Linked DNA regions of Homo sapiens: region 2 is linked to region 1. Evidence: promoter capture Hi-C in human tissues and cell types (Jung and others, 2019). All regions are on one chromosome and are shown on one strand. Each heading gives the region's core, a stretch centred on a gene start or on the middle of the fragment in contact. The rest is flanking DNA. Distances are from core to core; before and after follow the strand shown. Region 1 holds the start of PRKAA2 (protein kinase AMP-activated catalytic subunit alpha 2). Region 2 overlaps PRKAA2 (protein kinase AMP-activated catalytic subunit alpha 2).

Region 1 (7,677 bases), core at 1,628-4,127:
ATATTAGTTTAGTGGTCTTGCATTAATGTCCTACTCAGGACTTATTTTAGAATATTTGAAGGTAAAACAACCCCAAAGTTTCAGAAGCAGGAGGGTAAAGCAGCAATAGTTGGACCAGCGCTAAGAACTGAACACCTCCCTGGGGCACTGGTCTTAGAGATTGGTACTAAACAATAGCGGCGTGAAACCTTCATTGGAAGATAATAAAATGGGAACATTGCATTTACCAGGTCATCTTTAGGGGTGAGACCTCCAAGAGGCATGACCCTTAAGGAGATCTACTCTGATTAACTGTCGAGTTTTCTACTGCTGAATAGGAAGAGGCAAATATGGAACCTTATCTTGAAGTGTCCAGGACAACAGAGGGCTGAGTACTGCCACCAAGAGTTGTCCTTCTTACCCACTTACCATTCAACCTTTCCTCTAAATAAAAGTCAGAAAAACAACAAAAAGTAGTTTAAATACTTACAAATTTATAGGATATATTATTGGACTGCCCAAGAAATAATAAAAATATGAAAATGGAACCACAACTGTGACAATTTTTAACTTTCTTAGAGCACCATACTTTCTTTTGGCATAGGCAGCTGCGGTATAGTAGGCAGACTGAAGGACAAGTCAGAACTGGATATGAGTTCTGACTCTGCCACTTTTTAGCCCTGGGCAAATCAGAAAGGGAAAAACTAAGTTTTATCATCTATAAAATGGGAATAATAATCTTTCTTTTATGACAATTAAATAATTGTGTTTAAATGAACTTCTTAATCAACAAAGTATCATAGATGTTTCACATAGTAACAAAACTATAAGGTAGTCCACAGTAGCTATGTAAGAATCATAGTTATGAAGTATATAATAATTTAACTTACAGTATTTATCAACAAATAGTTAAGACAGTACGAAATGCTTTGAAATCTCAATTTACAGTTAGTCTTTATGTAGCTTCAAGAAAGCAATCATCTAACTTCAAGTGAAGACTTTTCAACATCTTTTAACGGGATATTAGAGCAGAAGACATATACATCTCATACCTCAAAAGCAGAATAGGTCTTTTCTTACTCACTTGACTACTGAAGGAATGACCCTTAACCAGATGAAAGTTCAGCACAAAAATAACTGGCTATTTTCTCAAAATTGCCAGCGAGGTAGAGTGATTCCTAGATGATACTTGTCAGCAAGAAAGATGATCTGAAGAATGAACAAAAATAGCCTCTGTTTAACAGCTGTGATATCTATAATTTATAAGCTGTGATCATCTCTCATCAGATTGTCTTGATGTTTGGATGAGAATGAATGTTTGAAATTTCTATATTTAGTACTTATCAGAAAACAAAGTTTTGTTGTGTCCTATTCTTTTTGATCAATACATTTCAATTTACATATAAACAGTGTTCAAGAGACTTCATGTTTGAGGAATGTGACCTTGAAACTCTACTGGCATGCAGTGCTATAAATGTTTGACTAATCCTTAATTACTTATCCCCAAACAGAATTTTTTTTTACTGTTTTAAAATTTTTTATTTCATTGGCAAATAAAAATTGTATATATTTAGTATGTATATGTTTTGAAATATATTGATTGTGGAATGGCTATAAGTCAAGCTAATTAACAAACATATTGTATACGAATCTTTTTGTGTGTGTGGTGAGAAGCAAATAAACTTTAATCACTGAAAGACAGAACAACATTAAAGAATGAGACAACATTAAAGGAAGGAAGGAAGGAGGGAAGGAAGGGCGGGAGAGAAGGAAGAGAGGCAGAGATAATCGCTTTATTACCTAATTCTTTGCCAGTCTTTTTTCTTTTTTTTTGTGGGGGAGGGTGGGGAGGTCAGTCTTTGAACACGCTGCCTAGGCATCATGCTTCTAATTTCCTCTTACCACTCTTTTCACTTCTATATCACATTTATTCTTCCTTTAATATGTGACCTTATACTGGCCTCGCCCTTCACAATTCCTCTGTCGCTTACGTATTTTACTTTCTGTGGGCAGAACATTGTTTCCCTTTCCACGTCTTTCCCATTTCCTTCTTGTACAGCTGTATCACATTTCGGTACTATATGTTTATATAAGCGCGTGGTAAAACTACATATTTATATAAGCATGTGCTAAAAAACACTCGAGCAAATACCGTGACTGAGATTTTTTGGAAAACTGTGGGCAAATTAGTTAAAATTGAGAGCTCTGGCGGAGAGGGTCTCTTCCATCTATAGGACAAAATAATTGGGAATTACAGAATAAGTAGAGGAGGACAATTCAAGAGAGCACAGAGCTGCGTGCATTCTCCCTGTGCCGCGACCTGTATCCAAAAGCCTCAGACGAGACTTGAGGAGCTTCCTAGAGGCTCTCCTGCCACTGCCCCTTTGGCCAGGGCCCTTCCCGCAGTCTCCCCTCCCGATTCTTCCCTTTTACAGCCCCTCGCTCCCGACATGCGAGGCCCGTCTCTTCTTCCAGTTTGACTTCCAAGTCTTTCCATTCCCTAGGATCGGGCCCCAGTCTCACCCCCTATTTTCACCCCCTTCGGTTTTCCTCAGAAAGGGCCTCCTGCCTCCCTCGGCACCCTCGCCTACCCCCCTCGCAGCACCTGTCGCCTCCGCCCCTCACTCGGACCCCGCGCATCTGGCGCAGCCCCTCCCGCACTCCCGCCCAGCGCCCCGCGTCCCCGGCCCCCGCTGTCGCTGCTTCGGGTTCCGCCGCAGGAGCCTCTCACTCCCGGGAGCGGGCGCCTCGCGCTCCCTCCCTCGGCCCCGCCCCGCCCGCCGCTCGCCCGTTGCTTCCCACCTGGGCCCGAAGCGCCCAGCGCCCTCTCCCGGGACCCCGCGCCCGCCCCGCGCCCCTCGCGGCTCGGGGTCCGCCCCCTCGCCCGCAGGGCCCGCTGCACTGTGGGTAGGCGGCGGCGGCGGCGGCTACGCGGAGCGGCAGGCGGTGGAGCGAGGCCGCGCGCGCCGAAGATGGCTGAGAAGCAGAAGCACGACGGGCGGGTGAAGATCGGACACTACGTGCTGGGCGACACGCTGGGCGTCGGCACCTTCGGCAAAGTGAAGAGTTGAGTACGCGCTCCGGACCGCTGTGCGGGGCTGCCTGACTTGCGGGAGGCCGAGGGGAGAGGCGGGAGCCCCGGGCCTCCGGCGGGCGCGGGGCTCGGCGGCAGGTGGAGCGGTCCCGGGTCGCGCGGAGCTGGGGCCCCGGGAGGGTGGCGCGCACCGCCTCGCCTGGCACCGGCGCCCGGGCCCCACAGGGTCCAGGGAAGAGGGCGGGGGTGTGAGCTGAGGATGGGCGTCCTGGGTTCCAGGTTCCGCGCCCATCTGCCTTTCTGGAGGTCGGAGCAAGGCACTTCTGTGTTCTCTGGACCTCAGTGTCCTCCTCTGCAAAATCGGGAGAACTGGACTCGTTCTGCGAGGCGCCTTCCAGCTCTGAGCCTGTAGGCTTAGGGCGGGGATCATCCACGCTACTGAGGACTGAGGCGCCGTTTCGTGCCGGGTGCCCTGTTAGGTGCTTTACATGGAATCTCATTGAATCCTCACAGTGACTTGGTCAACATGTTGTCCTCACCCTAAAGGTGAGAAAACTAGGACCCCTAGAGATGTAGTAACAAGCCCAAGGTCACACAGAAATGGTCAGTACCAGAGTGAAGTCTAAGATGTCCTCCAATTCTGGTCTTGCTGGGAGGTCCCTGCCATCCCCAGATTCCTTCACGTTCCAGGACTCTCGGTTGTTGGGGGTGACTGTTTGGGGGATGCTCCAGGGGCCAGAGGTTGTGAGTCTTTCTTCCTGGGGTGTTGTTTAACGCTGGAATGCAGCTGGATTGGGTCAGAGGTTAATTAAAACAGAGAGGTCTGAAGGTGTTTGTGTTTGTAAAATGGCTATGGGAAGACTTCTAGGGTAAGGGAGAGAAAAAGTTTCCTTGGTGTTTGGAGGATTTGAGGCTGAGGAGGTCAGGACTGCTAAGGCATATTCTGCTAAGGTCTGTCTTCATGGAGATAGGATCCCCTTTTGAATGTAGAAAAACAGGCTGCTTTTGAAATGTTATACTTTATTCGAGTTAAGTAACTAGTAAGAATAGTTAAGTATGGAACTTTCATTTGTTTTCTTTTTTGTTAATTAGTCACATGTGATTTAATTAACCTGCCTTCTCTCCAGAATAGAGACAGTTGTTTATTAAAAATACTTTGTTGCAAATCCAGAATTATAAGTGAAATATTGACCTTTATTTTTTCTCTTTGCTGAAGAAATGCTGGGTAGGCAGTCTGGAAATTTTATTCTGAGGTCTCTATTTCCTTGTAAAATTCATATTTTAACCCCAAGTCAAGGCTGTTGAATGAGTAGAAGAGACTCATTTTTCATTCCTTTGGTAAGAATCAGCTCCTGTTTTCTTGCACATATTTAATACTCATTCATGTGTTCAAAAAACGCTGAGCACCTGCAACGTGGTAGGCACTGTTCTAGGCAATGAGGATACAGCAAGGAAAAAACAGATCTTTTTGTTTAGCTTTCTAGTAGGAGAAGGCAGACAGTAATCAGAATATATATGTAAAAGGTATGTTTAATTTTATTGAGAAAAACGAATCAGGGAAGGGAAGATAGAGAGTCTTGTGAGGTTGGCAGTTTTCAATAAGGTGGTCAGACAAGGTGGTATTTTTGCAAAGACCTAAAAAGTTTGTAAAATTCTTTGCTGTCCTGTGAGGGTTATAAAGTCCTGGGTTATTTTTGAAAGACCTTATAAGTAGAGTGGATAGTTAGAATGTATTTAAGATGAATACAGGACAATCCAGGGATTGGATTAATGCCTGTAATGTTACTTGTCATTTAGTATTATTATTAAGGACTATTGTGTTACAACATTATACAGTTGCTCAAGCAAACAGCGCCTTTGACATTTGGACATGTACACACAAAGTTATATAACTTAACCCTATGTCCTTTCATATTGTGTTAAAAGTTTTTGCTTGTCTTTTTAAGTTCATATACTGTAATCTGAATGTAGAGTAGAATACTCATCAGATCAATCAGTCCATTGCCAAAGACAACTTAAATCTCTTGTATGTACTTTTGAATTGTTTCCAGGCACTGGCTTCTTAAAATATAAACAGAAAGAACTTTGATTTATGAGAAATTCTTTTCCTGGAGAACCTCTGTCCAATGAACAACCAGTTGAAGGAGTTTTCCTAACACTGTGTTAGATCCTCTCAAAAGTGATACCATGGTTTCCTATCCAAGATTAGGATTAGTACAATTGTTACTCATATAATTCTTCAAGGGACAAGCGAAACAAAAAGTCATGTTTTTTTTTTTTGTTAGAAAACAGCTTTATGGTTGGGCACTGTGGCTCACACCTGTAATCCCAGCACTTTGGGAGGCTGAGGCGGGCGGTTCAATTGAGGTCAGGAGTTTGAGACCAGCCTGGCCAACATGGCGAAACCCCATGTCTACTAAAAATACAAAAATTAGCCAGGCGTGGTGGTAGGCGCCTGTAATCCCAGCTACTGAGGAGTCTGAGGCAGGAGAATCACTTGGACCCGAGAGGCAGAGGTTGCAGTGAGCCAAGATTGCATCACTGCACTCCAGCTTGGGCGGCAGAGCAAGACTCCATCTCAAAAAAAAAAAAAGAAAAGAAAAGAAAACAACTTATTTAGGTATATTTTATATATGAAATTCATCCATTCTAAGTGTACAATTCAGTGATTTTTACTAATTTTGCCAAATGTTGCAACCATCATTATAGATAGGTTTTAGGACATTTGAGGACACCACAGTAAGATTCTTTATACCCATTCACAGTTAATCTCATTTCTACCCTCAGTCCCAGGAAATCACTAATCTGTTTTCTGCCTGTATAAATTTGCTTTTTCTAGGCTCTTCTTCATAAACGTGATCGTTCAATATGTCATCTTTTGTGTCGAGCTTCTTTAACAATGCTTTTGAGATTCATGCATGACATAGCATGTGCCATTAATTTGTTCCTTTTTATAGTTGAATAATATTCCATTGTGTGGATATGCCACATTTTGTCTATACAAAACCAGTTGATGGTCATGGTTTCAAGTTTTGGGCTATTATAAATAATGGCACTACGAATATTCACATGTAAGTCTTTGTGTGGACATATGTTTTCATACACCTTGGGTAAATAACTAGAAGTAGAATTGCTGGGTCATATCGTAGTTTTATGTTTTACTTTTTGAGAAACTGCAACACTTTCCCAAAATGGTCACACCATTTTATAACATTCCCATCAAAGATGTATGAAAGTTCCCTTTTCTGAGTATCTTTGCCAACATTTGTTATTGTCTGCCTGATTTATTATAGCCATTCTAGTGGGTGCGAAATAGTATCTCATTGAGGCATTAATTTTGCGTTTCCCTAAGGACTAATGATGTTGAACATTGTCTCACGTAATTACTAGTCATTTATGTATTTTCATTGATGGAATGTCTGTTTATATCTCTTGCTTATTTTCTAATTGGGTTACTTGTCATCTTATAAGTTGAGTTGTGAGGATTCTTTGTAAATTGTGGATACAGATCCTTTAATGGATATATTTTGCAAATATTTTCTTCCAGTCTGTTGTGTCTTTTCATTTTCTTGTGTCTTTTGAAGTATAAAAGTTTTGAATTTTCATGAGGTCCAATTTATTAGTTTTTAAAATTATTTTATGGACTATGCTCTTGATGTCATAGGCAAGAAATCTTTGCCTAGCCCAAGTCTCAAAGATTTTCTTTTATGTTTTCTTGTAAATATTTTATTATTTTAGCCCTGATGTTTAACTATGTGATCTATTTTGAGTTAATTCTTATGTATGGTGTGAGATGAGGTTGTAAGGTTAACTTTTTCCATGTGGATAACCAATTGTCTCAGCAGTTTTTGTTGAATGCAGGTGCATTTTTAATTGTTGTAGATTTTAGACATTGCAAAATGAATTTCTACTAAAAAAGCTAATAGGAGATGATGTAATTTTAAAAGCTTGGCCAGGTGTGGTGGTCCATGCCTGTAATCCTAGCACTTTGGGTGACCAAGGCAGGAGGATCCCTTGAGCCCAGGGGTTCAAGACCAGCCTGGGCAGCATAGGGAGACCCTGTCTTTGATTGATTGATTGATTGATAGAAAGATAGATAGATAGATAGATAGTTAGATAAATGGTTATAAAAACATGGAAATGGAGAAGTAAGGAACATTTTATGTGCTTTCTCTCTTGACTTTTTTCCTTTTTCTTATTTGTTTATTAATTAGTTTTTTTTAGGGACTATGTTGACCAGGCTGTTCTCAAACTTGTGGCCTTAAGCAGTCTATCTGCCTCAGCCTCACAGTGTTGGGATTACAAATGTGTCCCACCATGCCCAACTTTGACTGTTATGCTAATTATAGATTTAGAAATTTTAGGCCAGGCACGGCGGCTCACGCCTGTAATCCCAGCACTTTGGGAGGCCGAGGTAGGTGGATCACTTGAGGTCAGGAGTTTGAGAACAACCTGGCTAACATGGTGAAACCTCATCTCTACTAAAAATACAAAAATTAGCCAGCTGTGATGGTGCGCGCCTGTAATCCCAGCTACTTGGGAAGCTGAGGCAGGAGAATCACTTGGACCCGGGAGGCGGAAGTTGCAGTGGGCCGAGATTGTGCCACTGCACTCCAGCCTGGGTGACAGAGCGAGACTCCGTCTTAAAAAAAAAAAGAAATAAA
Region 2 (7,677 bases), core at 1,963-4,462, 41 kb after region 1:
GTTCTAAATAGGAACTTTTGGAGAGTTGGAGAAGTAACATGATATGAATATAGTGTAGAATGGGTATGGTGGCAGAAGTAGAAGCAGACAGACCAGTTGGGAAGCTATTGCTATAGTCTACCTGGGAGATTATGGTGGCTTTAACCAAAGTGATAATCTAGATTAGTGTTGGCTAATACAGTAGCCAGTGGCCACATGTGGCTGTGTAAATTTAAATTAATTAAAATGAAAAATTTGGTTGTCTGGTCACACTAGCCACATTTCAAGTACTTAATAGCTGCATATGTTTAGTGACCACTGTGTTGGACAGAGCAGATAAAAAACATTTCTATCGTTGTAGGAAGTTCTGTTCAACAGTCCTGGTCTAGATGGAGAGAAATGGATGGATTTGATATGTATTTTGGAGGGAGAACTAATGTATTACTGATGGGTTAGATAAGGAGGAGAAAGAAAGGAATTTTTTTTTTTTTTTTTTTTTTTTTTTTTTTGCTTAAGCAACTGGGATTTTGGGTTTTGGCTTGAGCAAGTAGGTAGTGATAGTGGTGTCATTTTCTGAGATGGAAAGAATGGAAAAGAAACATTAGAGAGATGTGAACATTAAGGATATTGTTTTGGCCATGATAAGCTAAGAATCCATTAGACATGTAAATGGAGATATCATCTATCATCTTTATCTCTCCTGCAACTAGCACAGTAGTAGGTATTCAATAATTACTTGTAGCTCCATAATGACATTTGAACAAGGTCCTGATGGCTCTAGGAGTCCAAGCAAGAACAAAAGAATGAAAGTGTGAGGAATATGGTGTATTGGGAACAAACAGTCTGGTTTGTTTGGTGCACAGAGTATGTATAGGGAAGTGGAAAAATAAAGCCAGAAAGGCAGGTTGTTGGTTGATCCATTCATTCAACAGATGACACCATTTAGGCACTAGGGATACAGCAACAGACAAAAAGGCAACAACAACAAAATCCTTGCTATTATAGAGATTATATTAGTGTGTGGTGGAGGGGTGGTGGGGAAATAGACAATAAATCCCTTATTATATGTCATATGTTAGACAGTGAAGAGGTGAGGGGATATGCCATGTAGATATCTGAAGTGGGTGAATGTTACACATAGAGGGAAGAGCAAATACAAAGGAAAGTAGAAATTCCTGCAGGTCAGAGATCAAGGGAGCAGAATGATCTAGGAAGATTAGAGTGAGAGATAAGGTCAGAGACATAAAGGGCATTATAGGCCATTGTCAGGGCTTTGGCTTTTACTCTTGTCTAAGATGGGAAGCCATTGGAAGGCTTTGATTAGTGGTATGATGTGATCTGACTTACATTTAGACTGTAGGTGAGCAAGAGTTGAAGCAGGGAAACCAATTGGGAGTCAATTGCAGTGATCTGTAAAAGATGATGTTGGCTTGAAATACAGCATAGTGTAGTAGTGTTTAGAAGTAAGCATGTTTTGTATGTACTTTCAAGATAGAGTCAACAGCATTTGCTAACAGATAAAATGTGAGTTGTGAGAGGAAAGAAGTTAAGGATGACGCCAAGGCATCTGGCCTCGGCGAAAAAACAAGGATGGAGTTGCCAGTAACTGAAGTGGAGAAGATTGTAGGAGGAACAGGTTTGAGGTGGGATGTTAGGGGGGTGGTTTCAACAATTTAATTTTGGTTTTATGAAGTTGAAATGCTTATTAGACATCCAAGTAGAGATGTAAGTAGGCTGTTGAATAAGTGAATCTGGAGTTCAGGGGAGAGGTGTAAGCTAGAGAGATAAATTTGGAAGCCATCAGCAGACAGACTGTATTTAAGATATTTAAAGCCCTAAGACTGGATGAAATCACCAAGATAAACAAGAAGTCCAAGGACTGGGCTCTAGAACACTATGATGCTAACATGTCTGAAAAATGAGGAGGAACCAGTAAAAGAGAATGAAAATGATCAGTGAGGTGGGAGGAAAATTAGGGGAATCGGGTATCTTGAAGCCAAGAGAAGAAAGTGTTTTAGGAAAGATCACCAACTGTCCCTTTTACTGGTGAATATTGAGTAAGATGATAACGGAGAATTGACTGTTGGATTTGGCAACGTGGAGGTTGCTGTTGTCTTTGAAAAGAACCAATTTATTGGAATGATGAGGGCAAAAACCTGATGTAAAGGGTTTAAGAGGGAATATGAGATAAAAAAGGGGAGATAGTAACTATAGGCAGGAGAGGAGAGACATAGGAGTGGTAACCAGAAGGAAATGAGGAGTCTAAACAAGGTTAGCTTTTTAAAATGGGAGATATTGTAGAATGTTGGTATGCCAAAAGGAGTGATTCAGTCAAGAGGAAGGAATTGATACAAAAGAAAGAGGGGCTAATTATAGAAGCCAAGTCCCTTCGTAGGTGTGGGAGATAATCCAGTGCATAACTGGAGGAGTTAGTCTTTGAAAGTATATGACCATGGAGTGGTTGGCTGTGTGTGGTGGAAGAAAAGATAATTAGAAATGAGGCATTCAAAGAACTTAAAGGCCATATGTTAAGATATTTTAAGCCTTAAGACTGGATGCGGTTACCAAAGATATGAGTACAGATAAACAAGAAGTCCAAGGACTGAGCTCTAGAGCACTATGATGTTAACATGTCTGTTTATATCACAGATTATCTATAAAGATATCACTTACACCTGAAACAGTGACAGTAGTAGCAATGGGGAAAAAGACATTAATTCAGAATGAGAAGGAGTTAGTAAAAGATTGATTGATGACTATAATGTGAAAAGGTATGAGGAGGTATTATCTGATGGCCTGCACTTCAAAGACAATGAGATTTTTGAGGGAGGAAGTTTTGGGTAAGAATTTCTTTTAGATCAGAATTCATTCATTACTAGACTATGCAAATTTGCCAGCATTTAAGATTTCATTAAATTAATGTGAATTAATGCATCTAGGCTCTGATCAACAGTGGCTTCCAATGTGTCAGAAAAAGAGACACATTATATGCCTTTGGCTAGAGGTACACTACACTACTTAGTCTTTCAAATGAAAACAAAAATTGCAAAAATGAAACAAATCTGATCAAGTATCTAGATTTAAGAGTGGGTTAGAAATTGTGCATTTTGCTGCTATAAAGGATGGAACAACAAAATTCATACTGTGGAATCCTCTTTAACAAACTAACTGGTTTCTTCCACAAAAGAATGCAAGAAAAAAACAACAGAGATAGAGGAGCAACCTATAAATTAGAAGAGACATAAGAGACAAATGAGCCAATTACAATATATTGATTGTGTTTGTATCAATAAATCTTCTGATTGGATATTTGATGACATTCATGGTTTTTTAAATTTATGCATGATAACAATATTTTGCATATTGTGCATACACACATATATTTTTAAGTTATCCTTTAGAGATATGTACAGATTTATTTACAAAGGAAGTGAAATCCAAATTCAATGTGAAATGATGACTGAAAACATATACTTTTACAAAGTTAATAACCAAGACATTAATTACCTTAGACTCTAGAATGTTATAGAAAGTTTGACTTATTCTATATGTCCATACATAAATAAGAAAAGTACTGTCAACTCAATAAGCATGGGCAAAAGACACAGCATTTTCTACGAAGAAATGTATATGGTGTTTTGCAACTGTTGGAGAATATATAAATCCACCAGTTTTCTAAAGATTTTAGCATTGCCAAACTTTCTTTGGAAAACTGTCTTTGGTATTATCTTTTCAATTGGAACATACACAATAACTATGACTCAGCAGTTGCACTCATCAGTGTATATCAAGGAGAAAATCTTGCCATGTAGAAGAATGTTCGTGTTAGTCCATTTTTACATTACTATAAAGGAATACTGAAGGCTGGGTAATTTATAAAGAAAAGAGGTTTAATTGGCCCACAGTTCTGCAGGCTGTACAGGAAACATGGTGCTGGCTTTTACTTCTAGTAAGGGTCTCAGGAAGCTTACAATCATGACAGAAGGCAACTGGCAGCCAGGGTGTCACATGGTGAGGGAGAGCAAGAGAGGAAGGAGGAAGAGCCAGTCTCCTTTAAACAACCAGCTCTCTTATGAACTGAGCAAGAATTCACTTATTACTGAGGCAATGGTGCTAAACCATTCATGAGGGATGGATCTACCCCCATGATCCAATCACCTCCCACCAGTCCCCATGTTCAACATTGGGAATCACATTTCAACATGAGATTTGGAGGGGATGAACATACAAACCATATTAATGTTCACAGCAGCAAATAATAGCAACATTATAGAAACAACCTAAATACTCTTTTTTTTTTTTTTTTTTGAGACAGAGTTTCACTCTTGTTGCCCAGGCTGGAGTGCAATGGCGTGATCTCAGCTTACCGCAACCTCCACCTCCCAGGTTCAAGCGATTCTCGTACCTCAGTCTCCCTAGTAGCTGGGATTACAGGCATGTGCCACCACGCCTGGCTAATTTTTTATTTTTAGTAGACATGGGGTTTCTCCATGTTGGTCAGGCTGGTCTCAGACTCTCGACCTCAGGTGATTCACCTGTCTCGGCCTCCCAAAGTGCTGGGATTACAGGTATGAGCCACCGCACCTGGCCAAAACTCTTTAGTGGTAGAGTAGATGAATAAATACAATAGGATATAACAATGGTCAAATCAAATAACTACAGCAAACACAACAATAGGATTGAATCTCAATAAAATAACTTCTAGAATATTACATAGAGCGTGATACCTGGTTTTTAAAGCAAAGAACAGTTTAACATATATATGAATTTGAATTATTCATATATATGAAATATACATATGTAGAGAGAGGGGATACACACACATGCATATGTACATATATAAACTGTATAAAAGAGGTGGGGAGGAAAGGATAAACAGGGTGTTCAGGATGACAGCTGCATTGGGTGAGAAGCAATGGGATGGGGAAGGCGGATCCCTATATTAATTAGTTGGAAGCTGTTGTCAAGGTCTTGGCCTTTTTGTCTGAGTGATGGGTTTGTAGGTATTACATTATTAAAAATAGTAATTAAATAAAAGGTCATTCATGGACTACTGAAGACAAGTGTCATCAACCAAGCATGATTGCTACATTTCTATGTAACTGAGTTCTAACTAAAGAAAAATCTTATGTGTATGTAGCTACATAAATAATATTCTAAAATCTCAATAGATTTTACCACCAAAAAGGTGTACTCATGAATGTTGATTTTTGGCTAACTTTGGAAAGATTTCTATTTTTTTTGATTTTCATATACTATTTTATGTGGCTATTTCCTAAAAATGCGTATAACTTGGTCAACTGGAAAATGCTTAGGATTTTTCTGGATTATTAATTTATTTTTACCAATTAGAAATGCTGTTTCTGAAAAATTTTTAAACTACATTAGTTTATTTCTCTGCTGTACTAGGAAAATAATACTGAGAAGTATGAGTGATTCATGATTGAATTTCTTGTAATGCTTCAATATACTTGTATTTTAGACAGCACAAGAGATTTGACTTACTCAGGCCAGGCTTAGAATGTAATCCTGGAATTTGCCTTTTCCACTAAATCCTTAATGTAAAACTGTCTTTTTAAGACGTCTTCCTTCTGAAATTTGTTTCCCTTTGTCCCTACCCCATTGTGGTTAGGGGTGGGGGACAAAGGGAAATTTTATTGGTTGAAGTTTTGCTGTAATTTTGCTATGATTTTTCAGTTTCAGATTACTCTGGTTTTGGCTCTAAGCACTCACGTTATTTAAAAGTGCTAATTTATACATTTACTTAAATACCTACTTTGTTATAGGCACTTTACTAAATACATATTCATTAATCAAATTATTGTAATAATAAAAACATATAATTACAAACTGAGATGCGTGGTCTGAAGCTCAGGAAAACGCATCTGTGAGTGCAAAAAGGCACCTCACCTGGACTTAGGAAGTGACTTTTAAGCTGAGATCTAAAGGATGATTAGGGCTCACTCAGGTCATAGTATAGGATTCAGGTCAGTGAAAACAGCTTATACAAAGGAGCTGTAGCAGGAGGAGGTACAGCATGACTAACACTGAAAAATGTAGTATGACTCAGTGTTGTGACTCAAAGGTGAGACCAAACAACAGAGATGGCAAGGGCCTGATTTATTCAGGACCTAAGAGCAATGGGAAACCTTTGAAGATTCTAAATTGAGAGGCTACTGGAGATCATATTTGTGTTTGAAGAGAATCTTTATTTAATGTCTGTCTTTCTGGCTAAACTGTAAGCTCCACGAGTAGAGGCACCAACTTTTGATCTCACCGAGTACAATACAAGTAGGTACTCAATAAATGTTGTGTCACCATTTAATAGCTTAGTGCCTGGCAGACAGTAAGTGCTTAGTAACGTTATGATTTTCATTGCTCTAGACTGGCCTTTAGTGTAAGACAGTGGCTGCTAAGGATTTAGAGGTTTCATGAAATAATTAATTCCAAGAATATCTGTTGAAGACCTGTGATATACTCAGAAATGGCAGCTAAATTTATTTATTAGAATGTCATCACTTCTTTTCTTTTGTGCCCCATCTAGGATGTACAGAGCACAAAAGTGATTGAAAATTGTTACTAAATCAGACCAACCTACAGTGAGGTGCTACAGCAGATGCACCTGCCCTACAGTATTCAGTTTACGTGATCACTTTGGTGCTTGTAAAGATAGCTTTTATAAAACTATTTCTTCTAGAGTTCTCAGTATAATTACCTTTCCAAAGTTCATTTGAAATAGTCTCAATTCTTCTTCAGTCATATTCGTTTATTTTATATAAATTAGAATACCTTGCCATGTTTCTTCCCAAAGACTAATGATTGCCATTCAAAATATTTCTTCTGGCCAGGCTTGGTGGCTCATGCCTGTAATCCCAGCATTTTGGGAGGCCAAGGCGGGCAGATCACTTGAGGTCAGGAGTTCGAGACCAGCCTGGCCAACATGGTGAAACCCCCCTCTCTACTAAAAATACAAAAATTAGCCGGGCATGGTGGTGCATGCCTGTAGTCCCAGCTACTCGGGAGGTTGAGGCAGGAGAATTTCTTGAACCCAGGAGGTGGGGTGCGCAGTGAGCCGAGAGCATGGCCGCTGCACTCCAGCCTGAGTGGCAGAGCAAGACTCTGTCTCAAACAAAAGAAAAAAAGTAACTAATTTTAACGTCTCCAAAACTTGGTTTGGTAAAATTGTGTATAGGGGTGTAAGTTGTAGTTTTTGGGAAAAAAATTTATTTTATCAAATAAAGCTAATTTTTTTTCTTAGTTTTTAATGTGCCCAGCTTTGGATGCCTAGAAACACAGACACACAGACACACACACACACACACACACACACACACACACACACACTCTTAATTTTTCATGATGGGAATTGTTTAACATTTACAAAAGTAACGCGGTGAAACCCCATGCATGTCTTATTCACCTTCAACAGTAGTCAATTCATTGTTTTATCTACGCCAGATTATTTTGAAGCAAATCTCAACATTATCTTTTTAATCTGTAAACTCTTCAGTATCTACTCTAGAAAATACTTTTTTAAACTCTAAATAACATAAGCATAGTATCATCACATCTTTTTTTTTTTTTTTTTGAAGCGGAGTCTCGCTCTGTTGCCCATGCTGGAGTGCAGTGGCACGATCTTGGCTCACCGCAAGCTCTGCCTCCCGGGTTCACGCCATTCTCCTGCCTCAGCCTCCCGAG

The links. Contacts are between HindIII fragments. The study calls those that stand out against the background at their distance.
Region 2: a contact is called between a fragment that was not itself captured here and the fragment with the promoter of PRKAA2 in region 1, in 1 of the 25 tissues and cell types used here (bladder).

The regions. Positions count from the first base shown.
Region 1 is chr1:56,642,437-56,650,113 of GRCh38, forward strand. PRKAA2 (protein kinase AMP-activated catalytic subunit alpha 2) reads left to right here and starts at 2,878. Exons shown (of 9, transcript NM_006252.4): 1 at 2,878-3,045. The coding sequence starts at 2,952. It overlaps LOC101929935 (a long non-coding RNA gene), which reads right to left and starts at 2,882. Exons shown (of 3, transcript NR_135111.1): 1 at 2,782-2,882; 2 at 1,064-1,188. The HindIII fragment of the contact is 16,794 bases long and covers 1-7,677 here.
Region 2 is chr1:56,682,615-56,690,291 of GRCh38, forward strand. All of the region lies in intron 2 of PRKAA2 (protein kinase AMP-activated catalytic subunit alpha 2), which reads left to right. Among named protein-coding and RNA genes, the nearest start is that of PRKAA2, 41 kb to the left of the region's middle. The HindIII fragment of the contact is 6,820 bases long and covers 1-6,622 here.